7 separate regions of the Homo sapiens genome follow, and all the other regions are linked to region 1. Evidence: promoter capture Hi-C in 16 types of primary human blood cells and fetal thymus (Javierre and others, 2016). All regions are on one chromosome and are shown on one strand. Each heading gives the region's core, a stretch centred on a gene start or on the middle of the fragment in contact. The rest is flanking DNA. Distances are from core to core; before and after follow the strand shown.

Region 1 (3,036 bases), core at 70-2,569:
AACCCTTGTTGGTATAATATTGTAAACATCAGAGCCGGGTGTGGTGGCTCACACCTGTAATCCTATCACTTTGGGAGACTGAGGCGGGCGGATCACGAGGTCAGGGATTCGAGACCAGCCTGGCCAACATAGTAAAACCCCGTCTCTACTAAAAATACAAAAATTAGCTGGGCGTGGTGGCGGGCGCTTGTAGTCCCAGCTACTCGGGAGGCTGAGCCAGGAGAATCGCTTGAACCCGGGAGGCGGAGGTTGCGGTGAGCCGAGATTTCGCCACTGCACTCCAGTCTAGGCGACAGAGCGAGACTCCGTCTCAAAAAAAAAAAAAAAAAAAAAACAAAAAAAACCCATAATGTTGACTATATATATATATATATATATATATATATAGTCAACATTATTTCATGATTAAGTGATGGAGTACCGAAATGAGTTAGAAAAACCTGATATGCCTCGTTTGTCTGTGACATTGTGTTTTGCTAGTGAGGATCCATGGCGTCTGAAAATGAGATAGCGTCCCTTCTTAAAAATTGAAAGTTGTTAAACACTTTTGTTAAGTTCTGTTTTGAGTTTCTCACAAATAATGAGGACTTAGTTCTAATTCTAAGCGCTAAGCCCTGTGGTGATGTGATTTCCTTGCTAGGCTCATGCACTAATATATCACACTAGGATCACCTCCCACAAGTTCTCACAGACTGTAGACAACTTATTTCAAGACATGAATGATCTTTACTTTCCATTCTCCCTTTTCTTCTGTAGATTACCATGGCTGTTTTCACTCTAACAGATTTTCAACTGTTTTTGTAATCAATAATGTAAGTTTAATTCTTCCCCCCTCCCTCCAAATAACTTCATGAACTGGAGGCACATGTGCGCCCATATTTTCCGCTCTGTTTTCCTTTGTTGGTCCTCCACAGATAGTGCCCTCTGTTGGATGGGCCGGTTCATTTTAGCTTCCACCTTCCCTTAAAACAATTAGAAGCTCTTAATTTAGATGGTACTGATGTTAATGATGATGATTTTCCATTTTATGCAAGTTTTGGCCCTCTGCTTGTCTAAAAGCCTTGAGGCAAAGAGTTATATGCAGTTTCTCTGCGGGTGTCTGATTACGTGGAGAAATTGACCAGAAATGGGATTTTTAAAATACAGCACACGCCTCGGTGCGGCTTCCAGTAAGCGCCACCAGGTGACGGTGCGGGGAAAGGGAAAAAAAAAAAAAAAAAAGGCATGCCGGAAGTCTCTCTTGACAGACAGACGCGCGGGCGAGTAGCGGAAGAGGAAGCGGACACGTGGGACACTCTACGGTGGCCGAGAGGATGCCGCAGATGTGTTAGCGGCGAGTCCAGAAGCAGCCCCAGGAGGTGCTGGGGGCATCGTTTCTCTAATCTGGCCTCCCGAGTGCCAAGGAGGCGTCCCGGCAGCGGTCATCATGGTGAAGGAGCAGTTCCGGGAGACGGATGTGGCCAAGAAAATGTAAGACGGAGTAAGAGTGGCCAAAGGGCTGAGAAATAGGGCAAGGGGTCCGAGGTCAGCGGTCCCGGGTCTTGCAGGGTCAGAGATGGGGTGCAATGGGAAGGGGAGGGCCAGTAGTCCATAGGTGTGACCAGCGCCCAGAACTACCAGCGTTGGTCAAAGAGCATTGGTCAGGCTGAGGGGATTTCAGCACCTCGAGAGGTCCCTGGACTTGGGCGGAGAAGTCGGAGTGGCCTGAGCCTTAATGATTTGTGCACCCTGGGCCAAAGCTCGCATTCTCCTGAAGTCATACAATGATCCCTGTTCTTCAGCGAACTATCCCCTGCTGCAGCGAGGGGAGCAATCTGGGGCGGGGACTGTCTCTAATTCTGTCAGCCGCAGAGCGTCTGACACGGAGGCAGTAGTTGCTTACCAAAAGGATGGGGTTGCCCACTAGAAAGCTGTACCACAGGCCGACGGATGGCAGTGTCAGAAATAAAGCTGCTATCCGGACTTTTGCCTTCAGAAATACGTTATTAGGCGGTGGCTCCTTCTTAGAGTTCTCGGTAAGAAAGTGAATCCAGCCGGGCGCGGTGGCTTACTCCTGTAATCCCAGCACTTTAGGAGGCCGAAGCGGGTGAATCTCCTGAGCTCAGGAGTTTGAGACTAGCCTGGGCAACGTGGCGAAACCCCGTCTCTATCAAAAATACAAAAATTAGCAGGCGTGGTGGCGCGCCCTTGTGGTCCCAGCTACTCGGGAGGCTGAGGCCGAAAAATCACTTGAGCCTGGGAGGCAGAGGTTGCAGTGGGCAACCTCCTGCATTCCACCCTGAGTGACAGAGTGAGACGGTGTCTCAAAAAAAAAAGTGAATTCATCATTCTTACAGCAGACACTGAGGAGGATACTGCGCGTTATTCCCAGTGTTGGACGTTAAAGATACGGTCTGAATAAAACTTTTACTGCCTAATCTAGTTGGAGAAGGTACACAAGTCAACACTGGGTACGACAAGTGCAATGACAAGGGTAGGTCCAGGGGGTTTTGAGAGCACATAATGGGTCCAGGCAAAAGAAAGCAGACCAAACTGCTTTTTTCAAGGAGCAGACCTGAGGGAGAGAACACAGGTGATCAGAAGGAAGCAGAAGACTTGAAGCTGTGTTAAGAAGTCATCTTGTAGGCAGTGAGGAACCTTTGAAGGATTTTCAACAGGAGAGTATCTTGATAAGAGTTCTCCTTCTGGAAAATCTCTTGATTCATGGTGGAAAGAATTAGAGGTCGAGAGACCTTGAGACGGATATACAGAATGCCTTGCTTGGGCAGCTGTGTGGATGGTTGCCATTCACTAGAACAGGTGTCTTACCTAGGTGAATGCAGCATTCTCCCATGTGGTAGCTCTACATCGACACTGGCCCTTCACACCCACCTGTACACCTGCGCCCAGTCAGATATAATACATTCTCACAAAACAGAGAAAGTGCTTCTGTCAAAGTGCAAATTAAGGGTATTGTCAATTAAAATCCTCTAGCAGAGGCCAGGAGTGGTGGCTCACGTCTGTAATCCCAGCACTTTGGGAGGCCATGGCAGGCAG
Region 2 (2,727 bases), core at 156-2,655, 1.3 Mb before region 1:
GCCTTCTGGGAGTATCTGCAAGATAATCCATGTTTGTTGTTTGAAGCCACTAAGTGTTGGGTCATTTGCCATGTGCAGTGGATAACTCATACCCATAGTACCCCACCCCAGCCAGGACTCCTGGAAGATCCCATTGCTCCATGCACAGCCAGTCCTGGATCTGCTGTCTCAGCAAGCTTGGTCACCAGCTCTTGGCAAGGACCTCACGGGCATGGTCAGGGAGAACTGGTCCAAGAGACAGGACTTCCTTGTCTTTGTAAAGACGTGGAATGGGCTGGTTATTTCTGTCTCATGCCTCTGAGGGAGACTGATTGAAGCTTGGGAGAGTGGAGGAGCTGGGAGAGAGTCCTCAGCGGGAGGGCCTGAGGGTCTGGCCATGGCATCCTGTTGGCCTCTGGGAAGGGGACGGGGCCTCACTTAATACCTCCGTGCTGGGCTCCGCACTTTGTAGATGTCATTCTGAGCCTCAGGGTGACCCTGCAAAGTGGAGCTTGTTGTCCCTGTCTTACAAATAAAGGAATGGAGGCCAAGAGAGATTAATGATGTGCCCAAGGTCACACTAGGGCCAAGTGGAGAGTGGAATTCTTCCTGACTCACCTGGCTCTGTGTCTCCAGGGGCAGGTGGGCTCTGAGTGGTGCCTCTGAGCTGGCTTGTGCCAGACATCATCCCCTCCACGCAGCCGTTTTCTTCCAGCTAGCCTGACACTGTGCTTAGTGATTGAGATCTATGATCCTATGTAGTCCTCATGATAACTCTGCAAGGGAGGGTCTGTTGTCCCCACCTGATGGACACCAGATGGCTGAGCTGGATTTCAACCCAGGCCTGGCTGAATCCATATCTGCACTCTCTCCCACTGACTGGGTCTTCTCACCCTAGAGAATCTACCATTGGCTCAGCCCTGCAGGGCGACACCCAACAGTACAGCTGGGTAACATAGAAACACACACTGACTTCATTTACACAGTCCCTGCCCAGAGTCAATAGAAAAGTACCTGGTCAGCAGGACCCGCAAGGTTGCCAAGTCCAGTCCAGATTCGTCCTTGGTGCATGCCCCATTGCCACCTTTATTTACTGTTTACTGATTTGCAGTGGCTTTTCTCAATGCATCATTATCCTCAGGAGAGGATCCCACTGCCAGTTGTCTAGGAGTGGGGCCCAAGACTTTGCCAAGCCTAAAATGCTGCTCAGTCAGACTTCACCTGAGCTCTGGGCTCTCTGCCTTGTGGGTGCAAGGAAGCAAGCAGCCTCCAATTCTGCAGTTTCCCTTTTTGGTCTGTTGTTTTGGTCTGTGCAATTTTCATGAATCTACTGACTTGACCCTCTTAACCTCCACTGACTAACTCACATTGATACCTTTCCTTGCTCCATTAGAATAAATCTCCTTCTGGTCAACAATGCTTACCTTGTGATCCATATTGTCCACCTTCTGATCAGTATGGTCCACCCTTGATGACAAGTATTTGTCTTTTCTTCAAATGAAGATAAGCACCATGGTGAAACCCCCTCTCTACTAAAAAATACAAAAATTAGGCCGGGCGCAGTGGCTCATGCCTGTAATCCCAGCACTTTGGGAGGCCTTGGCGGGCAGATCACCTGAGGTCGGGAGTTCGAGACCAGCCTGACCAACATGAAGAAACCCCATCTCTACTAAAAATACAAAATTAGCCGGGCATGGTGGTGCATGCCTGTAATCCCAGCTACTCGGGAGGCTGAGGCAAGAGAATCGCTTGAACCCGGGAGGTGGAGGTTGCAGTGAGCCAAGATCACGCCACTGCACTGCAGCCTGGGCGACAGAGCGAGACTCTGTCTCAAAAAAAAAAAAAAAGTAACTGGGCGTCATGGTGGGTGCCTGTAATCCCAGCTACTCGGGAGGCTGAGGCAGGAAGAATTGCTTGAACCCAGGAGGCAGAGGTTGCAGTGAGCTGAGATCGAGCTACTGCACTCCAGCCTGGGTGACAGAGCGAGACTCTGTCTCAAAAAAAAAAAAAGAAGAAGAAGAAGAAGATAAGCACTATGGTAATAAGAATAGCTACCTTTTGCTGCACTTAATACACTGCACATGGTAAGGATTTATAACATTATTTCTTAATCCCCACATGGCCCTTGAGAACAAGTACTAGTATTAACTACTTTTTATAAATAGGGCCTCCAAAGTGGGCAGAAGTCATAAGCCATCCAAGGTTACCTGGGTCTTCCCTTGTGTTAAGTGAGTAGTGGAACAGCCTGTATTTGGCCTTGCTCTGCTTAATCCCAGAACTTGGCTCCTGCCTCTAATGCTATCTTTGCTACTGTTGAATTTTAGTACAAAAGATCAGCAGGTCAGGCTGAGAGAGGCCTCAATTTATGTGACAAAGATCTCAGATTGTAGATGAGCAGAAAGGCTCAAACAGTTGACCAACTAGCAGCCTATGTTCCTAGGACAGAGGGTCCGTATCACAGGCCCTGGGGCTGGGTGAGTCCAGGCATATCTCGGGATCACAGCGGAAGCTTCAGCTCCATGGGGACAGGCCCAGCCCATTCAGCAGAGAATCAAGGAGCAGGGGACCCTGCGAATCAAGGGTGTTCGGAGAAGATCTAACTAAAGCTGGTCACAGTAGAAGTGTGGTGGGGTGGACACAATGCCATCTCTAGAGAGTTGAGGGCTGCACTGGGGCAGAGGCCACAGTGGGGCTTCATAGGCCTGACCAGGATGAGCAGGAGCCAGATTTGGGTTCATTTAGACAGAA
Region 3 (2,734 bases), core at 91-2,590, 1.3 Mb before region 1:
ATTTCACAGTCGTGTGCCCACTGCCATGCAGCAATCATGGTGACTCAGCTCTCTTAGTCTGCAATGATGTCAACTGAGGGCCTATGTCAGTGAATCAGACTCTTGGTGAGCCATAGTGCCAATGGCCTGAGGCTCCATTGGAAGGAGAAGTGAATTCATACCTAGAATATGCATCCATCCTGTCTGGGCAAATCACTGCCCTTCCCATGAGGGAAGGGGTCCTACATAATCAACTTGTCACCAAGTGGCTAGTTGGTTTCATCCTGGAATGTTATTGTATCACGGGCTCAGCTTGGGTCTCTGTTGATGACAGGTTGGGCATTCAGCAGTGACAGTAGCTAGATCAGCCTTGGGGAGAGGAAGCCAAGGCTGTTAGGGTTATATATAACTTCGTCATTGTCACCATGGCACTCTGTTCATGAGCCCATATGGTGCAAGGACTGGTTGGAGGATGACGAGTGAGGACAGAGACTGGCTGACGTCCACTGGCCGAGTCATCCTGCCCACTTGGTTGTTTGGTGTTGCTTCTGCAATGGATGCTCTTTGGTGAGTATTGAAATGTGATACGTTATCTTCGTACTTTTTGCCACTCTCAGAGATCCACAGGCCTCTTTCCCAGTCCTTTTTGTCTCTGATAGTCCAGACTTGTTTTTCCCAGGCCCCTGACCAATAAAGAGCTAAGCCATTCACCACTGCCCATGAATACGAGTATATCCTTATTTCAGGTCTCTTCTCTTGCCGTGAGATGACCAGGTGCTTTGGCAAAATCTCTGCCTATTGGAGGGATTTTCTCTCACCAACATCTTTCAGGGCCACCCTTGGATGGCACTGTAGTGCAGGCTCAGTCCATTTTTGGCTTACACCCACAGGCCAAGTCAACCCATCTGTGACCCAAACTCAAGAATTTCCCTTCTCTGTCAGCTGGTCATAATAAACATTTTTTGTGAGAGGCATTGGTATGACAGTCCTCATCCCAAGTCTTGGTGTCTCCTTCCCTACCAGGGGCCTGATTTGGATATAGGAGACCTCCCTTGATGGAGAATTCAGCCTTTACTCAAGTTCTGCTGCTTTTCCAATGAGTCCTCTGCCTGATTGTCACTCCATCTGCCCTCTGGCTGCAGAAGGTAAGCGCTTTCCAATGCTTCCTGCCAAGAAGTTTCCTCTGATGCGCACACTCTAAATTGCCAGTTAAGATATTTGTAACTGTAATTTCCTTTCTTCAATGCATTGGTGACATTTAGTAATAGCCACATTTAGCAAGTCCATAGTCTTAATAGTTATTCTTTGCCCATATCTCTCAGATGCCGGATACATTGCTGTGGCTGTGTAGCTCCTTCACCTGTGTCCCATCCCAGTTCACCACAGGTGCACACTGCTACCCAATTCCTGCCACTAGTGGTGGGTCCTCATTGTCATCTGGTCAGTGGTACCTCTCCAGCATCCTATCCTCAGAGCCTGCCTCCCAGACCCATTCCCAGCACCCACTGTCTTCGATCTGGATAGGAGCAGAGCATAGGACAGGCATGCTGATTCCATGATTTATTGAGGGAGTGATCTTGGGAGAAACCTATGAGGGAGGCAGGCAGAACAAGGAAGGGGAGAGAGTGGAGTTAGCATGTGGCCTCAGGTAAAGTCTAGCCCTGACCTGACCCACAGGGAGGATTTGAGAGCACTGATCATGCCCCAGCCAAGAGGCCTTTTATTCCTTGTGGCAGTCAATTTTGGCTGTGCGCTGCCTGGCAGGGGTGCATGTGTGGGGATAGGGGGCAGGTAACCTGTCAGGCATGGAGGTTTCTGTGAGCTGAGGGAAATTCTCTGATAAAGGGGCACGTTCTGGGCTGTTGGCGGCCAACACCCGTAGCAGCGGCAGGATGGGTGGGCCAGTCGGTGAAGAAGATCCTGATGAAGCACCACAAGTACCTAGTTACCATAGGAACCTGCGGAGAAGACAAGGAAGGCACAGAGGGATGCCAGGAAAACTAAACAGATGAAAGAGGAAGTTGTCATGGATTCAAGTGTCTTCATCTCTTTTCTGTTGCTCTAACAGAATACTCGAGACTGAGTAATTTATAAAGAAAAGCAGTTTATTTAGCTCATGCTTCTGGAGGCTGGGAAGTTCAAGATTGGGTGGCTGCATCTGGTGAGGGCCTCATGATGCATTGTAGTATGGCAGAAGGCATCATGTGGCGAGGAGGGCAAGCGCGTGCCAAGTTGGCTTTTATAAGAGACCTACTCCCATGATAACCCATGAATCTGCCAACTCATTAATCCATCAATCCATTCATGAAGGCAGAGCCCTTATGACCCAAGGGCCTGCCTCTTAGTACTGTTACACCGGGGATTAAGTTTCACCATGAGTTGTGGTGGGGGGGACAAGCATTCAAACCATAGCACCAAGAGAAGAGAGCTTCAAGGAAGAAATGGCAACTGTCAAGTGCAGCTGTGAGGTCCAGTCTCAGAAAGCAGCGTGGATCAGCAACGAAGAGGCCATTGGTGAGCTTGCAGGAGAAGTGTCAGAGAACTGGTGGGGCATGAACCAGGCATATGAAGGGTGACAGAGAAAGAGAGTGGGCACTGGCAGTTTTGTGGCTGAGAAGCCTGCATGGGAAGGAGCAGAGACTGGCCATCAAGGGGTGGAGCCCAGACCAAGCTGAACCTTGCAATGCCAGAGCCTGGGCCACTAAACCCGGGGAGGCGGGAGGCAGAGGTATGGGGAGGGTTAACGGGCTGATAG
Region 4 (2,700 bases), core at 165-2,664, 1.3 Mb before region 1:
TTTTGAAATATGCAATACAATGTCCTTAGCTACAGTCATGCTACTGTGCAAGAAAAGACCAGAACTGATTCCTCCTATCTAACTGTAATTTGGTACCTGTTGGCCAATCTCCCCCATCCCGCCTTCCTTCCCCAGCACATAGTAACCACTATTATACTCTCTACTTCTATGACATCAGCTTTTTAAAGTCCGCAAATGAGTGAGATCATGTGGCATTTGTCTTTCTATTTTTTCTATTTGTCTTCCTATTCTTGTTATCTTTGATCACATCCTTGTGATCTTCCAGGCCTCAGTCCCAATGTATCAAACTCAGGCATTGGGCTCCATCTCGAATCCTTCGCTCTGACAAGCTCCCAAGTCGATTATTCCATGTTGAGTTGATAGAGCCTACAGGCTGCCCTGGGGTCATCAATACAATTTATTAGGCTAGTGCTAGAAAGGGGCATGGGGGACCACACAGCTCTCTTGGGCATGGGGTCCAGTAAGCACTTGCACAATTGTGGGGAGGAACAGTCTGAGATTCTCCTGCTTAGACCTGGGAGGGCCTGGTCGGGGAGACTGAAACTGAGAAGAAGGCTGAGGCCAGACCCGCCTTCCTCCTCTGGCGCTCTCTGAGGGCACCTGGCCTGGCTGCTTTCTCTTGGGAGGGGAATGTGGGTATCCCACCACACTTCAGGCTGGAGTTCTTAGAGCCTGTTCTGGTTCCAAAAACTGTCTGATCCATGAATCACTCTTTGCTCAATTAAACTGTTAAATTTAACTTGTCTAAGGTTATTCCTTTTAATAGATTCAACTTGAAACATAAAGATACAAATAACTTAAAAGTAAAAAAGTGAAGAGTTCCACTTCTTGGAGGCAATGTGAAGAGTTCCATGAGCCCACTTGCCTGTGAAACAAGCAATGTTGGTGAAAACTGCTTTTTAAAAATTAACCTTTAAAGTCTCTGGAAATTGTCCTAAGGATATAGAGCAAATGAAGAAAGTCAGGCTCCCACTCTGCCTTGGGGCATCTCCTCGGCCTGGCTCACCTTTGAGCTCATCTCCCGGCCAGGAGCAAAAGCAGCCCTTGACCATAACAGTAATCATGACTATAAAGATAGTATGTGGGGACGTCACTAAAACTAACTCAATAAGAACAGCAGGTCTATGGCATTTGACACATAACTATTCCCTTTTCCTTCACCTTCAGCTCAGCTTAATGGAATCTTCTCATAAGGTGAGGGTGGCCAAAAAGACAAGGCTCCCTCTCCCCTCACTTCCCAATCAAGTATTTTCACATATTAGTGGGAGAGGCAGACCAATAACATTTTGCCCATCTCTCCCAACTCCAAGTTAAAGAAGCTAAATTCTGGATGAGTGCAGCTGAGAAGTGGGGGGTTTCTTTCTACACCCAGCCCTAACCCATAGAATAGTGGCTCCATCCCAGATTCAGAAGGCCAAAAACACTGGGACCCCAAATCTTGCTCCAGCTCACTCATAGAGCACAGGTTCTATGCTAGGAGAGGAAAGCCAAGAATATCAGAGGCTACCACCCTGCCCAGTCCCCAGAATACTGGCTCATCAGAAAGAGAAACAATCCATAAGAGAAAGATATCCAAATCTCTCCACAAAGGAACTTTTATTTTATTTTATTTTTGAAATAGTGTGTGGAAGCCTAAAGTGCTTTTGAAAACAAAAAATAAATTGGACTTCATCCAAATTTAAAATTTTTGTGCTTCAAGGGACACCATCAAGACAGTGAAGAAACACCCTACATAATGAGAGAATGTATATGAAAATCACATATCTGATAAGGAACTTGTATTTAGAATATATAAAGAGTTCTGGCAACTCAAAAGTACAAACACAAATAGCCCAGTTAAAAAAGTCAAAGGATCTGAACAGACTCATCTCCAAGGAAAATATACAACTGACCAATAAGTACATGAGAAGATGCTCAACCTCATTAATCATCAGAGAAATGCAAGTCAGAAATAAATGAAGTAGCACTTCACACTCACTAGGATGGCAAGAATAAAAAAAGATAATATCAAGTGTTGATGAGGATGTGGAGAAACTGGAACCCTCATACATTGTTGGTGGAAATGTAAAGTGTCACAGCCATTTTGGAAAACAGTTTGGCAATTCCTAAAAAAGTTAAACCTAATCATTTGATTCAGCAATATATACATAATACGTAAGGTGGTATAATACTATTTGCAGTTAGTCTTTGATAAGTTAAACAATATATAGTAAATCCTAGGGAAACCACTAAAAATATAGACTGAATAATTAGGCTGAGCATGGTGGCTCACATTTGTAATTCCAACACTTTGAGAGGCTAAGGCAAGAGGATTTCTTCAGGCTAGAAGTTCAAGATGGCAGTGAACTATGATTGTGCTACTGCCTGGGTTACAGAGTGAGACCCCAGCTCTTAAATATATATTTATATATATAACATATATTTATATATATAAATATATATTATATATATGTATATATAGCTGTGACATTTTACATTTCCACCAACAATGTATGAGGGTTCGTTTCTCCACATCCTCATCAACACTTGTCATTTTATACATATATATAAACAAATAGCCAATAATGGTGATAAAAATGAAATCAATTTGGAGAAAAACCTCAATCCAAAAAAAGGCAAGCAGAGAACAAAAGGCAGATGGGACAAACAAAATAAATAGCAAGATGGTTGGTTTAAATT
Region 5 (3,013 bases), core at 416-2,915, 1.4 Mb before region 1:
AGGGGAGGGGCCCTGCCCCACACTCTGTGCTCCCAGGATAGGGCTGGGGGAAGGCTTCAGGCACTGCAGGGCGGAGCATCTCTTTCTTGGAGTGAGAAGGGAGGGTCGGGCAGATCGAGGCCCCCACCTGATCCAATGCTTCAGTATGACAGAGTGGGCCTACCATGCCAGCCCACCTACAGGATGGTCCCTGACCCACTGATAGACATGGTTTTGGGATCCTGGGAAAAGAGGGTAGTAGTCATTTTAAGTACAGCATGAGATTATCAGTGATTTTTTTTCCTATTAGTTTTTCCTATTTTCCAACTTTTTTTATAATGTGGCATTACTTTTATTTTACGTTTGTAATGGAAATGGAATCCTGGAAACTCTGGAAATGCATGTAGTGTTCCCCTCCAGATGTTGGAAACTGACGTGTGGTTGGGTGGGGCTGGGTCCCTTCAGGACCAGTGGGAGGCCAAAATGTGCTGTCATTCATTACATTCCCAAACCCTGCTCAGAAACGGCCACACCATGCTTCAGGTTCTTGCCGCTTAGAGTACGGCCCTGGCAGAGATGCATCAGTGCCTCCAGGGAGCTATTACAATTGCAGGCTCTCAGAGCAGCATCTTAGCAAGGTCCCCAGGTGATCTGTGTGCCCCCATCCCAGACTCTGCATACATAGTGGGAGCTGACCCACTGACGACTTTCCTGCAGACCCCACATCTCCAGTGGGTCCTGTCCTCCCCCTCAATATACACAGTAAGCAGGAGGCTATTGGCTCCCAGCAGAGAGTGAGTACCCTCAGCCCCCCTGGGGTTCTCTGGATAGAATGAGGGGCAAACAGGCAACTGAGGATCTAGTTGGTCCTTAAGGGCATGCTCATGGCCTGTGCAGTCCATAGCCTGTTGCACTTTGTCCAGCTGAGCCCCAGCACAGGGGCCCCCAGCTCATGTGCACACAGCCATCCACAGCAGCCCTCCCTCATCCCCTGCCTACAGCCTGGGAAGTGGGCAGAGCCAGACTGAGCTCCGTTAAGGAGACAGGCACTGTGCTGAGTGCTCTCCAAGCAGTATTTCATTTAATGAAACTACTCTATGTGTTAAGTGCTCTATTTGCCTCATTTTCCATGGGGAAACAGATGCTTCGAGGGAGGAAGGGACTCACACAGGATTATTGAGCTATCAATGGAAGAGCTGGGATTTTAATCCAGGCAGGCAGGTGACACTCAGACATCAACAGGGGCTCTGGAGCCCCGAGGAGGTATGCTTACTCTGGGCTGGTAGCCTGGGAATGCTACCAGGAGAAGGGCTTTGGAGAAGGGTGGCAGGGCCTCCCCCAGGGTGACCAATATCCAAAGGCAATGGATGTGAGCCAGAGGCCCGGGGATAGCAGAGGGTGTGTGTGTGTGTGTGTGTGTGTGTGGTGTGTGTGTGTGAGTGTATGTGCACATGCATGCACCATCCTCTCTCCTGACAGGGCCAGCGCTCTTCTAAATGCTGGGGCAGAAGGTCCCTGGCACCTTCCAGCACAGTGCTAACGTGGGATCTTCCTTCATAGAGATCATCATCTCATATTGGACTCTTAACTCTACGGCAGAAGGAGGAGCAGAGGCCTCATTTTACAGTCTTGGGGAGGTGGAGAGGGCAGAATGTATACGAGATCCCCAGTCTCAGGATTTCTGTATTCTTTGCCTCCTTAAGCTCCTTGTCACTCCAAGCTAAGACCTGCATGGTCTGTGGGGCCTCAGTTTCTCACTCAAGCTGATTGAGGCCTTCTCCTGGCTCCATTCCAAACTTGATTCTGTCCTGGACTCGTGAAGGCCCAAGCACCTTCTTCCTCCCTTCATGAGTGGTGGGAGGACAGACAGAGGCTCGCAGCATCAGTTTCGTCGCCTGTCCCATGAGGCTAAGGAGAGCACTGACACCCAGGGTATTGTGAGGACATAGTGAAACTATGCATGGAAGGTGCTTAGCACAGTGCCTGGACACAGGAAGTGCTTAGTAAATGTTGGCTAGCATTTTTTTCTCCTTTGGGTCACTATGAAGAGTGCACCCATCTGGCAAGGCACTAGGTATTTGGGCAGGCTAGAACCTGATTGGATGCTGTCTACCCCTCACCTGGCCATAGCTCCAGGGGCAGGTGCTGGGCTGGATTCATCTCTGTGCTCCTCACCATCTGACCACGCCAGCTCAAGGGACCTCACACGCAGCGGTGCTCAGTGCAAGGCTCCCTGAAGGGAGGAACGGGTTGACAGGGCTTTTATAAACCACAGAAAGAAACCTGTGTCACAAATGAAATAGTGTGTTAGAACCTAATTTCTATAATATTTAAAAGTAGAAGGATTTTCTTGGGAACAGCTTTATGAGATACAATTCACTTCCCATATAATTCCCATTTGAAGTGTACAATTCAGTGATTTTCGTATATGCCTGGAGTTGTGCAGCTGTCACCTCAATCAGAGAACATTGTCATCACCTTGAAAAGGAATTTCATACTCCTTAGGTATCACCTCTTTTTTTTATTTTTTTGAGACAGAGTCTAGCTCTGTTGCCCAGGCTGGAGTGCAGTGGCATCATCTTGGCTCACTGCAACCTCCACCTCCTGTGCTCAAGTGATTCTCATGCCTCAGCCTCCCGAGTAGCTGGGAATCCAGGTGCTGCCATCATGCCCGGCTAATTTTTCTGTTTTTAATACAGATGGGGTTTCACCATGTTGGCCAGGCTGGTCTCAAACTCCTGGTCTAAGTGATCCACCTGCCTCAGCCTCCCAAAGTGCTGGGATTACAGGCATGAGCCACCTCTCCTGGCCCAGATGTCACCTCTTGATCATCCATCCCCTCGCATCCATAACCACTCATCTATTTCTCTCTCTGTAGATCTGTCTATTCTGGACATTTCATATAACTAGAATCATGTAACATGTGGTCTTTTATGACTGGCTTCTTTCACTTAGCATAATATTTTCATGGTTCATCCATGTTATAGTGTGTTAGGAAGTGTTCCTTCCTGTTATATTTTCTGGAAGAGTTTGT
Region 6 (2,700 bases), core at 23-2,522, 1.4 Mb before region 1:
CTTCAAAAGATATCCACATCAAATTCCTGGAACCTCTCTGTCTGTCCTCAAATCCCTGGAAAGCTTCTTTGCACATATAATTAAGTTAAGGCTCTTAAGGTGAGATCATCCTGGATTATCTGGGTGGGCCCTAAACCCAATGACAAATGTCCTTTTAAAAGATACGCAAAAGAGAACAGACATACAGAGGAAGAGGTGACGTGGCCACAGAGGCAGACTGATGAGGTCACAAGCTTGCATGTCAAGGAATGTCAACAGCCACCAAGAAGCTAGAAGGGACAAGGAATGGATTCTCCTGTGGAGCTTCTGCTGGGCAGCCCTGCCGACACCTTGGTTTCCATTTGTTATAGCAGCTACAGAACACCAATACAGGATTCACCAACGCAAAGGTCATTGGAACAATGAAACTGGATAAGGTACCTCTGAGAGATTTCAGTATCCTGAAGAACCAACATTTAAGGCTTGGAAGAACAAGGCCTGCAAAGGATATTGCCAGGCAGTGGTCAGAGAGGAGGAACTGTGTTAGTCTGTTTGCATTGCTATAAAGTAACACTAGGGACTGGGTAATTTGTAAAGAAAAGAGGTTTATTTGACTCACAGTTCTGCAGGCTGTACGTGAAGCATAGGGCCAGCATCTGCTTCTGGTGGAGACTCAGGAAGCTCATAATTGTGGCAGAAGGCAAATGGGAGCCAGTGTGTCACACGGCAAGAGAGAGAACAAGAGGGAGCAAGAGATGGGGGAAGGTGCTAGGCTCTTTTAAAACATGAGATCTCACATAATGAGAACTCACTCATTACCACAAGGATGGGACACAGCCATTTATAAGGGATTCACTCCCATGATCCAAACACCTTGCCCCAGGCCCTGCCTCCAACATTGGGGATTATATTTCAACATGCAATTTGGAGGGGACAAACATTCAAACTGTATCAGAGGCCAAGGCAGTTCCAGGCTGAGTGAACAGCAGTGTCAAATACTGCTCAGGTCAGAGCTGGTGTGGCCAGTGAACTGGGAAATTTAACATCAGAGGGGGCAATCTTGACTTTCCTCAAAGCATTCTCAGTGGAGTGGTAGGAGTAGGAGTGAGGTCCAGAAGATTTGGGGATGAGTGAGTGGCTGAGATGGGAAAACAGCAAGTGTAGAAAACTCATACAAGTTTGGTTGTGAAGTGACAGAAAGAGTAGCTAGAGAAGTGGAAGGATTTTCCTTAGCTGGTAGAGATCCAGGGATGCTCCATTGCTTATGAGGGGACAGGAAAGAGGGGAGGGTTGAAGATATGGGATGAATGACAGGGAAGAAAGCATTCCCAAACACAGAGGAGGTCCCCCAAAATGGATCCTGATACAGGTAAGTGGAAAGGTTTGTGGCAGAATGTTGAGAAACCATCCATTCAATGGCTTCTGTTTAGTCTCTGATATGAAAGACAAAGTCACCTGCCCAGATGGATGAAAAGATAGTGGGATAGAAAACTGGAAAAAAAACAAAAAAGGGAAAAAGGTTTGAAATAGCCTTTGAGAAGCATGAAGAGAGAGCTGGAGGCTTGCTGAACTCTGCTGAGAGCCAGTGGAAGCTGGAGACTGATAATTTAATGCCCCCAGCCTGTGTGATTGTGCAAGGTTCTCCAGCAGCCCTTGACAGCCAAGGCCAGTATGGAGAAGGCAGAGAACGGATGAATCTACACTGGACATTTTCCAGGCAAGTGGGGTGGCTCCTCTAGCCCAGGCCAATGGGACTAATGGGATGCTGACAAAAGAAATTGACAAAATGTACCAAGACATGTAGGGTAAATAAGAAAAATAATTATTTTTAAATAGAAGTAAGAGGAGTTGGAAGGACTGGAGTTATGATCAAAGAGATATGTTTGCATTTTTCAGTGTCAGAGGTGGGGCGGTTCTGCGTGTGGCCAGGAGTACTTTGAGGACTGGAGTACAGTGGAAGTAACAGTCCCTAGAGATGAGGTAGTTAAGGAACGAAGAGGGCAAAATGGTGATAAGTCATCATATAATTTATTGTCCACTTTTGAAAGTGAAAGGAAGCATTATTAATTGATCATTCACCCCAGAATAACAGGCATGAGTCTGGACTGTCCTGAGCAAACCAAGACATATGGTAATCCTAATGCTTAGCCATTCGGGCTGATTGCAAGCCTCAAGGTGGAGAAAATGACAGTGCCCTCGTGTAAAACTATAAGGGACTGACGGGGCTTGCAGGCAGTTGAGTGCAGAGTGTGGGAAGTGGCGTGGCCAATGGCAAGAGGCTGGCCAAGCAGGGATTCTACAAGAGGGTGGGGGAGCTTTGGTGGGAAGCTTTGCTGGGGCAGGTGGAGGACAGAGGTCCCATCTCCACATCTCCTGGAGGTTGTTAATCTGCAGAATGAGAGTTGCTCAACCTCATGCATGTGTCACACTTTTTCCTACTTTCCCAAGCACTTTTATTTTTCCTAGCCTCCTAACTTTCTTGAGCGTTATCTACTGTGCTTCCCATTTTCAGAAACTGAAACCAAGGCGGAGGATAGTTTAGGTGATGACCCAAGGCAAACTGAGGAAACTCCAGAAGCAGAGCTGCCAGACAAAATACAGGACACCCAGTTAAAATGTAATTTCAGATAAACAACAAATAACATTTTTTTGTATAAGAATCTCCCAAATATTGCATGGGACACATTTCTACCAAAAAAAGTTATCCGTTGTTTATCTGAA
Region 7 (2,700 bases), core at 148-2,647, 1.3 Mb before region 1:
TAGAGAGCTCTCTGCACTGCAGTCACAGTAGACAGTTTACATGTCTGTGCCAGCTCCACGGGCAATGATCGAGGTTTTGCTGAATGTGAGAAAATGAGCAAGGCCTGGGATAAGGCAGTGATGATTCCTGGCTCCTGTGCACCCGCTATGGCAGCATCTACACACACATTCATGAAAGGAACGCGGGGGGAGGGCTGAGTTATTTCTTCCCTTGCACTTGTAATAGCTGCTTTATTTGGGAGAAATAACCAATTTCCATTAAGGGTATTGTCAGACTCTAATTAATTTCCCTGATCCAGCCATACTGGTCCCGTCTCCGTGCAAGGCTGTAGTGTTACTGCTAATGAAATGCCAAGCCAGTGAGGAGCTGAAGCTCCCACCCTGTTTAATTTAGGGGAACCATTAACAGTGTTCTCCATCATCACAATTACTGGGGCCTACTTCCTTCCCTCCCTGCGGTGAAACTTAGGAACTTGTGCAGCTAACTGCATATTAGAGGGTGTTAAAACTTTTTCAGTAGGAAGGAGGAAAGGAAAAAATCCTTTGCATCTTGGCCATCTGGAACTGATGGTGCAGGGATTTATGGGTCTTTCAATTCTCCCCTTTCCTTCTTTTTTTGTTTTTAAAATGTTCTTGGGGCAACAAAGCCCTAACATAAACTGAGCTTTGGTGAAGCTATGCAAAACCGAGCTAAAAATGGCAGCTGTGGAGATGGTGTGATGTGGCTGGTTTTGATTGCCCCCTTCTTTCTTGTTTGGCCATGAATAAGCACTTAAGAATTTGATGGCACCTGGCTGAGGATCAGGGGAATAATGACTGGTCCATGGGCTCCCAGTGTGCCAGGCTTGGCGACAAGCACACCACTCCTGCCACTGTTGTCACTCCCCTTCTACAGATGAGGAAACCGAGGCACAAGGAGGGTAAGTAACTGGCCAGTTACCCAGCTAGAATATGGCCCAGCTGAAACTCAAGGCCCAGCAGCCTGGCTCCAGGGCCTGTTCCCCGACCTGCTATACTCAGGGGATGCCAGGGGCCCTCCCGCCCAGAAGCCTCTCTGTTGGGGTTCATAAATCCCGCACCTATAAGAAGGAGGAAGGCACCTCTCAATCTTGGAGGCTTCCCCAGCCCTAGCGAGTTTTGACTGTAATCAAATTAACAGCATAAACAAGATTTATTAGGCCTTTAATTACCTTTGCAACACTGATCTGCATAAGGACAATGTGCTAATCACAAATGGCTTTTTAAACCACTCATTAAAAATCTGGAAGAAGGAGGTTGAAAGACTTCACTGGCTTCAAGTCCAGGTCACTGCAGGGACTTGGAAGGTGCCCTACTTGCCCAGGCACTGGTCCTGGACCTTGCCAGGCCTCTCTGGCCACCTTCTCTTGTATAGTATCCTGGGTATCTGTGAGTATAGACGGCAGCCCCACTGCAGCCAGTGATGAGGACAAAACAGGGAGTGAGCCTACAGACGTCCACAAACTGAGGATAATTAGTATTCCTCGTCACCACCCTTACCCCCAGATATAGCTGCGGGGCTATGGCAGCCTGACCCTTTCCTGACATCCTGCTCATGCGGCACCATGTCCCCCATCAGCAGGGAACCACGAGGCCAAGAGGTCAAGGGTCTTGCTGGGAGGCACAGCATTTGTGTGGAAGAAAGCAGGCCCTGACTCACAGCCTCATGCCGCAGTGCCAAAGCTCTGCAGCCTGCAGCAGACATGATTGTGACACCCGAGCTCTCCAAATATGACAGTCACCAGGGACCCTCCAGGCGTCTGCCGTCCCTCGGGGCAGGGCGGGGCTGCAAGTGTCCAGGCTCCCTCATCCTCTCCCATTTGTTCGTCCTCAGAGCCTTCAGACAAAGACCCAGAGCCTTCAAACAGCCAGATACCTGCGGGCATCAAATCTCAACTGTCCCAGCTCACCCAAGCTCACCTCCAGCTCAATGTCGCCTTAATGAAAAGGCAAAAAGAGCTTCCTGCCTCCAAGCCATTCAATAAAATTATGGAGGATGACGGACTAAAACAGTTTGCTAATTGTGAAAGCGCTCAGCTTTCTCTTCCATTTTCTTTCCGTCTTGTTTGGGAAATTGCACTGAGGACTTATGAGGTGTTGGACCCCGTTGCAGTTTCCCTGGAAATGAGGGATTTATCCTTTGTGAAATTCCTAAAGGTTGCAAGGAGAGACTGTGTAACTTTCAATTGCCTAACCACAACGTGTCCTCAGAATAGCCTGGGGCTTGGAGAAGGAACACGGGCTATTAAATGGGAAAAAGGTGAGCTGTGGATCAGAACAGATGACCCTCTTCTAAAAAGACCCTCCAAATTGGGTTAACAACGAGATACCACCTCGTTGACCCTGAAGGACCAGCTAAATAGCACAGCCCTGTGCGCTGTTTAATATCTTCCTCTGCCCTTTACTGGCTGTGTGTTCTGGGGCAATTCACTTTCCTACTCTGGGCCCAATTTTCCTTCCAGTTCTGCCATTCAAAGTGTGGGATGTTGTCTAGCAGGCCCTCCACCTCCCTGTGCTCCCACGAGGAAGCCTCGCTCCACGGAACCGACTGGTTAGCCACCAGTACTCAGCGAGTCTTCCAGCCCACACAGCTTTCCTTTCTCTGACAGACCACTTATGGCCCAAAGAGTAAGTGCCAGCCTGGTCTTCAAGCTCTCAGACCACTGGCTTTGCATTCTAGGT

Evidence for each region. Contacts are between HindIII fragments. The CHiCAGO score rates a contact against its expected background, and 5 or more counts as called.
Region 2: a fragment that was not itself captured here is called in contact with the fragment with the promoter of POLR3A in region 1 in 6 of 17 cell types (naive CD8 T cells, non-activated CD4 T cells, total B cells and 3 more); the score reaches 10.8 in naive CD8 T cells.
Region 3: a fragment that was not itself captured here is called in contact with the fragment with the promoter of POLR3A in region 1 in 7 of 17 cell types (total CD4 T cells, naive CD4 T cells, naive CD8 T cells and 4 more); the score reaches 20.0 in total CD4 T cells.
Region 4: a contact is called between a fragment that was not itself captured here and the fragment with the promoter of POLR3A in region 1, in 4 of 17 cell types (activated CD4 T cells, neutrophils, non-activated CD4 T cells and 1 more). The highest score is 7.4, in activated CD4 T cells.
Region 5: a contact is called between a fragment that was not itself captured here and the fragment with the promoter of POLR3A in region 1, in 1 of 17 cell types (activated CD4 T cells). The highest score is 5.4, in activated CD4 T cells.
Region 6: a fragment that was not itself captured here is called in contact with the fragment with the promoter of POLR3A in region 1 in 1 of 17 cell types (neutrophils); the score reaches 5.0 in neutrophils.
Region 7: a contact is called between a fragment that was not itself captured here and the fragment with the promoter of POLR3A in region 1, in 8 of 17 cell types (total B cells, naive B cells, naive CD4 T cells and 5 more). The highest score is 18.5, in total B cells.

The regions. Positions count from the first base shown.
Region 1 is chr10:78,027,798-78,030,833 of GRCh38, reverse strand. It overlaps POLR3A (RNA polymerase III subunit A), which reads left to right and starts at 1,319. Exons shown (of 31, transcript NM_007055.4): 1 at 1,319-1,470. The coding sequence starts at 1,427. RefSeq lists an enhancer at 1,150-1,399. The HindIII fragment of the contact is 13,008 bases long and covers 1-3,036 here.
Region 2 is chr10:79,340,630-79,343,356 of GRCh38, reverse strand. No RefSeq gene overlaps it. Among named protein-coding and RNA genes, the nearest start is that of PPIF, 5.5 kb to the left of the region's middle. The HindIII fragment of the contact is 2,171 bases long and covers 320-2,490 here.
Region 3 is chr10:79,318,654-79,321,387 of GRCh38, reverse strand. No RefSeq gene overlaps it. Among named protein-coding and RNA genes, the nearest start is that of PPIF, 27 kb to the left of the region's middle. RefSeq lists cis regulatory regions at 1-272, 1-287, 1-313 and an enhancer at 2,480-2,734. The HindIII fragment of the contact is 6,055 bases long and covers 1-2,734 here.
Region 4 is chr10:79,370,924-79,373,623 of GRCh38, reverse strand. No RefSeq gene overlaps it. Among named protein-coding and RNA genes, the nearest start is that of PPIF, 25 kb to the right of the region's middle. The HindIII fragment of the contact is 2,962 bases long and covers 1-2,700 here.
Region 5 is chr10:79,429,078-79,432,090 of GRCh38, reverse strand. The region is part of intron 2 of ZCCHC24 (zinc finger CCHC-type containing 24); the gene reads left to right. Among named protein-coding and RNA genes, the nearest start is that of ZCCHC24, 15 kb to the left of the region's middle. The HindIII fragment of the contact is 8,422 bases long and covers 1-3,013 here.
Region 6 is chr10:79,458,377-79,461,076 of GRCh38, reverse strand. No RefSeq gene overlaps it. Among named protein-coding and RNA genes, the nearest start is that of ZCCHC24, 14 kb to the right of the region's middle. The HindIII fragment of the contact is 2,074 bases long and covers 236-2,309 here.
Region 7 is chr10:79,281,563-79,284,262 of GRCh38, reverse strand. All of the region lies in intron 8 of ZMIZ1 (zinc finger MIZ-type containing 1), which reads right to left. Among named protein-coding and RNA genes, the nearest start is that of PPIF, 65 kb to the left of the region's middle. The HindIII fragment of the contact is 3,710 bases long and covers 1-2,700 here.